Linked DNA regions of Homo sapiens: region 2 is linked to region 1. Evidence: promoter capture Hi-C in 16 types of primary human blood cells and fetal thymus (Javierre and others, 2016). All regions are on one chromosome and are shown on one strand. The core of a region is centred on a gene start or on the middle of the fragment in contact, and the rest is flanking DNA. Distances in the headings are between cores, read along the strand shown. Region 1 holds the start of CLVS2 (clavesin 2). Region 2 overlaps TRDN (triadin).

Region 1 (3,886 bases), core at 904-3,403:
TTCTATCATATGTAGATATGTTAAAATAAATCTATTTGAAGCAATTCTGTTATTGGTAAATAATAAATAATAAAAATGTCATCCTTCAACCTTCAATACTGGTCATAACATATGCTGGGCCAAAAAATACATTTTATTTTATAAATTCCCTTAAAAATATAGTCTAATATGTCCATCTCAGAGAACAAAATTAAACAACTGTTTTTTCATCAAGGTGAAAGATCTGAATTTTAACTTCACTTACAGGCTAACAAGTTAGCTGGCTGTAGTTTCATGGATGCCGATGGAAGATGCAAAACTCTTGGCTTCGAGATAAAGGATTTTGTCACTCAGGCATAGCGGGCAGTATGAGCATCTGCATATCTTGCATTGACTGGTCCCCTGAGCTCTAATTCCCACAGATAGCTAAGAAAAGAGGATCAAGTGATACTGGCATAAACAATGGGTGGCATTACAGCAGAATAGCTCTGAGTTTAGGGAATTCAAATAAGCTTGCCTACCTTTTGGTCAGGAGAGAGATATCACAGCTTTCAAGGCTTTGTTTCAGATGGAGGTACTATCTCTATCTTCCAATATCTTCCAAGACTATTTACTGTACAAATACCCTTGAGAAGACAGTCTAGAAAAAAGGGCAATTAGTGCCTTGGTCATAAGACAGGTAGAAACACAACGGATCCAGGGAGAATTGTCTCTCCATGTTGGTGATGACTAAAACTTCTTCATACAGTTGATACGAAACATAAATTTTCTTCAACCTCTAAAATATTAGAAAAAATGATTTTTTCAAATGTTTTAAAATGAGAACCAAAAATTTAACAGTTCACATTGCATTCAGCATGCTTGAGAAAGTCATAATCACTTAAAATCCTAGAAGGACCTTATATATAGTGCATATATATAACACACATATACACACACTTAAGTGGTTTATTTTCTGCCTTCCCCATTTAAAACATAAATTCCTTGACAATAATGACTGTGTGTGTGTGTGTGTGTGTGTGTGTAATTTATTGTCTTATTCGGGTTCCTACATTAATTTGCATTAATTTAATTAATAAATGCTCTAGCTCTACCATACAACCCTTTTCCTTCTTTCTTTTTATCAACACCATCGCCATGAGAAGAGCAAAAACAAGTGTGCCTGTATTTTGAGGGTTCTCATAGTCATCAACATTGAAAATGACAAGATAAGAAATGTCAAGATAAGAAAATGACAAAATTTGCTTATCTTCAAGACCACCTCCTATACACAGAATGCAGAAAAATGCCCCACACCTCGTGGAACTCAGTAAATATTAGTTGCATTGAATTAACTTCAATTCAAGACCCCATTCTACAGTTTATAAAGTCAAAAGTTGCTCTTAGTAACACGCTCAGTAATATGTGCTGTGTTTTGAAAATAGAAAATATCCCTTTTCCTCAAATCCATAGATAGTCATATTAAGCGCAAGGACTTCTGTTTATTTATAATGATTCTCATATACAGATGCATACAACTGAAGGAAGGATGGTATGTGTTTCCAGAAATATTTGCTTTATGATGAGATATGAGTGAAGTTCCTATTTTTTTCTTCCTTTGAGAATTATGTTTTTATTATCATTTACCCTAGTGCTCATTTTCATCCTCTTCAACAGAAATTTAGCAGGGAGACTGGTTGAAAAACTATTCATATAAGTTCCTCCGGAGGCTTAATCATCAGTACATTGTCTTGGAACCACTCTGGTGTTTTCTAAATTAAATATCTCTGTCTACAACAAATGCGAAAAGTACAGAATGTTTCCGTACTCCTTCTACATCAAAATTGCCTCCTACAGGAACGAGAAAATGCGTGTCAATGTGAATTACCGTCTACAACAGCTACTCTCCAGGCTGATCTGGGGTCTTGCACACAAAGGGCGAAGAGAGGGGCGTGGGGAGGCTGGAAAGCATGGTTGCCCCGCCTGGCCCGGCGACGCCCGCTCAGCAGCCTGCTGAGGAGTGGGGACGAAGAGCAGCCTAAACTTAGGGCTCGGGATATTTCGATGCCACCCAAATTGCCGTCCTACCCCAACGAGGCAGGGAAAGGAGCGGAGCGCGCGCGCGAGCTGAGTGAGTGCTTACGTCGCAGCGAGATCTGTGCTGGGATAATTAGAGAGGAGTTGGGCTGAGCCGAGTCCTCTTTCAGCAGCAGCAGCCGGAGCCGCCGCCGCAGCCCGGTGGGGCAACCCTGACTCGGACCGCTCGGGAGAGCCCCAGGAGAGGCCAGCGCCGCGCAGCAGCCGCCCCGCTGCGCCCACCTCCCCGGCTGCTCCCGGAGGGCTCACAAAGGCGGTGGCCGCCCGAGTGGCCTTCTCCATCCAGGCGTTCGCGTCCTCCTCCCCACCTTCTCTCCCGAAGGCGAAAATGGCAGGGCCAGGCGAGAACCTGGGACAGCGGTGGCCCTAGCCCTGCGATCCTCACCCCTCCTGCTAGGAGAGGCTGCGGGCTGCCCGCGGACGATGTGGCCGCGGCTGCTCCCGAGCGCATCTTCGGCCCGGGTCCCCGCCGCCACCCCTCTTCTCTGCTCCTTCCATCCCGCCCAGAGGAGTTGATGCCGCTGTCGCCGCCGCCGCCGCTGCTGAAGCCGCGGCTGATGGATGCCAGGGAGTGCCGCATTGCTTAGCGACCCCGCCTCTGGGTTTGCTGGTAGGAGCGGCTGCTCTTTCTTCTTTCTTGCTTTGGGGTTTTATAGAAAAGATAAGGACATTTTTATTTTATTCTTCACAACGTCCTCCCCTTCTCTTCGTTTTTGAAATGTGCATTCCCAGAGATATCCCCGGTCCCCTCCCTCCCCCTCCCCCCTTTTCTCCAACCCCGCGGCAAGTCCGTGGAAATGAAGGGCTAGAGGAAGGCAGAAGTTGGGGGTGGGGTTGGGGGAGCCCACGCTGGTACCAACGCCACCAGAACCCCTGCTGGTGCCTTATGAGATCACGGTGTATCTCAGAGGGGTGGTGGGAAGGTGCGCTATCTGCAGAGTCTTCACCTAATTGGATCACAATAATCTTAAATAAATCACACAAATTTGTCTTTTAAAAATAGCGTCTTTGAATAAGTACAGGGAGAAATAATCTCCTTTCTCCCCCCTCTTTCTCTCTGTCTCTTTTTCTTTCTGGCAAAGATGATCTCTCTCCGCCCTGGAGCTCAGCGCTGAAGAGCTACCTTATTATTAATCAGAATTTCCATCGCCACCCCTGGCAGGCGTATCCTTCAGCAGGGACCGCAGGAACATTCACAGTGCAGGGGCTGAGATGTGCGTGGGGGTTGTTTTTGTTACATCTTGGAAGAGAAGAGAAGAGGACAGTACCAAGATCAGAAACACCCGTGCTAGGTGGAATTAGGGGTGATTTGTTAGGAAAGAGAAAGGACAAGAAGAGGAGTGCGGAGCCCTTCAGGGGTTCACATCTCTTTAAAGGAAAGGAAAGAGGGAGCCAAAGTAGGGTGTTGTATTTTAGGGGGCAGAGGAAGAAGTTTACACCCCCCGGCCCCCCCAGCTTTGCTGGGGGAAAGCAGGAGCAACAGGGCACTTGATTGGACACCAAGATTATTAATTTCCTGTAGGGGAGAGGAAGCAGGCAGCAGGAGGTCTGGGGGCTGGAGTCTGGTGGTGGCAAGGACCAGGTTTGCTTTGGGACAGTCAACAAGGTCTTCTGAGGGAAAGCTCAGAGATAGGCAGAACAATGACTCATTTGCAAGCCGGTCTCTCCCCTGAGACCCTGGAGAAAGCTCGCCTGGAGCTCAATGAAAACCCAGACACGCTGCACCAGGACATCCAGGAGGTGAGGGATATGGTCATCACCAGGCCGGACATTGGCTTTCTGCGCACGGATGATGCCTTCATCTTACGCTTCTTGCGGGCTAGGAAGTTTC
Region 2 (4,182 bases), core at 401-2,900, 310 kb after region 1:
TGTTTTTCTTTCTGGAGATAAGGGCAGTACTGAATGTCTATAAATTTTTGAACAAGGCATCTCAAATTTTAATGTGCATATAAATGACTTAGGACTCTTGTTAAAATGCAAGTTCTTATTCATCAGTTCTTGATGGGCCCTAAGATTCTATATTTCTAACAAGCAGCTAGGTGATGCTGATGTTGTTCTTTGGACCACACTTTAAATAGTAACTGTATAGATTATAACCTTTTATATTTTTCACTTACTTTATTGATATATTTTATATGTTTATAGTTTTTTAGGCATTTTCATTATGTCACATTTAGATATGCATTACATTGCTAAATTTTTACAATAAATTTGATAGACTGGCATGGAATATACTGTCAGTAATTCCATTTTAAAGAAGCTGAGACTTAGAAGTTAAATCATGATGTCAAATCACTTAGAAGTTAAATGATGATGTAAACCACTCCATATCAATTGTCCCAGAGCTCCTTCCTCTACATCTTTCTGTCTTCATTGGCCTTTTACACACAGAAAACTGCCTGTGCATGTGGTATATATCATAAAGTCAAGAAACATGTCAAAAACAGATTTTAAAAAAATTATTAACCAATGATTTCCTTTCCATAAAGATAATGTTGTTGGACCTACTGTGGCTATAGTGGCTTTTGAAATATTTTTTTCTGCCTTAGATATTAAAGACATAACTCACAGAACAGATAATATAGGAGCTAAGACACAAGGTTAGAATAAATCTATGCAACAAACGACATGAATACCACATGATACATTAGAAGAAAACATGTGCAAACAGACCAAGGATAAAGACATGTTTACCGCTAGAAAGTCATGGGCAGGTGGGATAGTTTGTTGATGAAATTCGAGGTTAGATGAATAAATAGGATGTTTTCAGTGAGGGACTGAGTGAAAGGGGAAGATTCAAAAGACATTGAGAAGAGAAAAATTCACAGAACTGGTAATGGTTTTTAAATGTCTGTGTGGGCTTCTGGTGATGGTTGTGGTGGATTAAACAAGTAGAAACTATGGAAATAAATATGTTGAGGGCAGTATGACAATGAATGACAGTAACCTAGCACTGTTCCCTACAGATGTCCATTTTGTAAAGATAAGTAGCATAGGCTTGTGGTAGATCTTTAAAGAGAAAATGTAAACAAGATAATAAGTTAATGATTTTGTATATTTATTCAGGGAAGAGATAATAAGAATCAGAAAAAAACAGGTTTTACCCAGAAGAATTAAAAAAATGGAGAGAATAAATTTGGGAGACACATAACTTCGTGCCTACTTGGATGCTGGGTTCTGAAACAGAAAGAAGAGTTGTAAATGACTCAGAAGTTTAAGCCAATGTAACTGAATGGCAAGTCATGACTTCCATGAGATAAGAGCAAAAGAAAAAAGGACAATGGAAGAGATGTTGAGTTCAATTTTAAGGAAAATGTTTTGCAGACAGAATAACCATATAAAGAAGAAGTTGATTAGCAGTTAGAAATGCAGTTACAGAACTGTGAAAATTTTGTATATGAATATTAATTTTCTTTTATTTTCTTTTTTTTTTTTTTTTTTTGAGACGGAGTCTTGCTCTGTTGCCAGACTGGAGTGCAGTGGCGCCATCTCAGCTCACTGCAACCTCCGCCTCCTTGGTTCAAGGGATTCCCCTGCCTCAGCCTCCCAAGTAGCTGGGACTACAGGCATGCTCCATCATGCCCGGCTAATTTTTTTGTATTTTAGTACAGATGCAGTTTCACCATGTTGGCCAGGATGGTCTGGATCTCCTGACCTCATGATCCGCCAGCCTCGGCCTCCCAAAGTGCTGGGATTAAAGGCGTGAGACACTGCGCCCGGCTTAATTTTCTTAATATAAAAGTAAGATAAGTGATTGCATATTACTTATGCAAGTTTTTTTTATAAACATGTTTTTTCTCTTGTGTTAACTTATTTAGTTTATTTGAAGATTGTCTGACAAAAAACTGTGTTTTCGGTGCACAGCATTAAACACAGGTTTCTGATAATTTTAAATCAATGGACCAAATAAAATTGTACATAAAGAAACTGATGGATCCATGAAACTGCTAATAGAGATCAAGCTGAAAATAAGCTGATTATATAACATTAAATAACTGATAAAGATAATGTTTTTATGACTGTTATTTAAAATATTATTGATCCTTTACTTAAATGCTTTGTTTTCCAGATTTCAAAAAAAGTCTTTCTTAAGCAATTTGGTAAAATATAGTTGTGTAAACAAAGATAAAAACATTTTTCTTCTTATTTAATTTCTCCAAAAATTTAAAAACTATTTGCAAATATTTTTATGGCAATATGGTTATTTACAAAAGTCCAATAAAATCTGCTCTCTCTTTACAGCAAAATACAATTGAAAACATTGCTTATACTACCAAGGTGCCAAGGCTTCAATTAAAATGTCACATTTTACAATATGTCCAAAATTTCTGACTTCAAGAGTTCCCATTCTTACAATAAGTAAATAAAAACTGTCATTTCCTGGAAGGCCCAGGAACCTTAAGACAGTAAGCAAATTCTAAAGTCTGCCTTGGTTTGGCTTCCTAGCTTCAAGAGTTTTTTAAATCTAGGGTTTCTATATGATCAATTAAAAACATGTTTACAAAGAAAAGCTATAATACACCTGTTATTAGATTGTAACTCTATATATCATTTTTAGTTATTGTTATCTATCTATAGGCTAGACTAGGTCTTAAATTGTTTTAGGTTCCTCCAATTCAACTTTCTTCCATAAAAGTGGTAAAATGAGAACTGCTCTGTCCTTAAAGCCCTATAAGGTAATGCTAGGCAAGTTCTAAAGAACAATTCTCATGTCTGGTATATGAAACACAGAAAGTTCACAAAACCGCCTGATGCCACGACCAAAGACATTCAAACTACAAACTAGGACAAAAAGTTTCTGTTTTCCACATGAAACAACTTTCCTTGAGATGTTGGAACAAGATTCCTTATTATTATGAGACTCTTACACCCCTCAAGGCTGCCTTTTTCATTGACTGGATAATGGCATAATTAAAATTTCAGTCAGTAGCTTCTGTTGGTAACTTGACATATCTTGACCTAAGAAATCCCTTTTATCTGTACTGTGAGCAGCTCTGACAATATCCCTATCACAACTTTTTGTTCAAATTGTACTGGTAATCCTTTTGGTAAAGCTGGTATTCTCTGCTTTAATTCAACCCAGTCATAAACTACTACTCAGTGGCTATAACAAGTCTCAGCAGAATATGTCTAGACTTTTAGATATGTTTTGTTGGTTACCTTCAGAATTAGGTTTAAGCTTTCAAACTAGTTATTCAAACTGGATTTATTATATGTTTACTGACGGTTTTTTGTATGATAATTTTTAAGCTTTGTTTCTATTGCCTGTCTAATCTTTGTAAAGCCAACTCTTCCAACAGGATAATATTAGTTCAATACCTCAAGATGATTGCTGATGTCTGCCCAGGGACAGATAAAATGGAATTTGATGCTGGGATCCAGCCAAATCTGCCCTGAGAACATTTTTCTTTCTGGCCCATTTGTTACTTAAATGTGGCCTAAGTCTCTGATGACCCCAAACATTTCCCCAGACATGGGACAGAGACAACTAGGACAGGTTCATCTTGGCATGAAGGGATAATTAAGCCTAACTGTAAAATGATTGATTAGTGATGCTTTCAGATAAGGATGTTGATCAAAAGGGGGGAAATGTGAAAGCTGATAATCTAAATTGGGTCATTCTTGTCATACTCAACTAAAACAAAGTCTAGAAAAGCCAGGGGGAGAAAACACTCAGGGCACAAAACAGGGCTCCAAGAATGTAATTCTCTGCACATACTTGACTGCTGGAATTGCTTGTTGTAACCTGAAACCAGTTTTATCTATAGCTTCCGAGATAACTTGCTGCAACTCTAGGACTAATTTTGTCCACCTCTGTCACTCACCAATGGGAGCTGGCTAAACTTTCTCGAAAAACAATACATAAAATCTATCCTTTCTTAATAAATCCTCTAATCTTGTCTTTGTTCTTTAGACATAATCAAAGACCACCCAGTCTGCAGGTATGTCATGAATTGCTATTCTTTCTTCCCAAATAAAACATGAAATTTAGAAAATTGTCTTTATATCTTTATTTTTACTTCAAATGCATGTCATGTTTGCCACCATTTT

What was found. The method cuts DNA at HindIII sites, captures the fragments that hold promoters and counts their contacts. A CHiCAGO score of 5 or more calls a contact.
Region 2: a contact is called between a fragment that was not itself captured here and the fragment with the promoter of CLVS2 in region 1, in 1 of 17 cell types (endothelial precursors). The highest score is 6.1, in endothelial precursors.

What each region holds. Positions count from the first base shown.
Region 1 is chr6:122,994,082-122,997,967 of GRCh38, forward strand. It overlaps CLVS2 (clavesin 2), which reads left to right and starts at 2,154. Exons shown (of 6, transcript NM_001010852.4): 1 at 2,154-2,665; 2 at 3,138-3,886. The coding sequence starts at 3,697. LOC124901392 (a long non-coding RNA gene) reads right to left here and starts at 839. Exons shown (of 2, transcript XR_007059733.1): 1 at 501-839; 2 at 1-405. The HindIII fragment of the contact is 3,468 bases long and covers 490-3,886 here.
Region 2 is chr6:123,302,699-123,306,880 of GRCh38, forward strand. The region is part of intron 24 of TRDN (triadin); the gene reads right to left. Among named protein-coding and RNA genes, the nearest start is that of TRDN-AS1, 130 kb to the right of the region's middle. The HindIII fragment of the contact is 3,315 bases long and covers 1-3,308 here.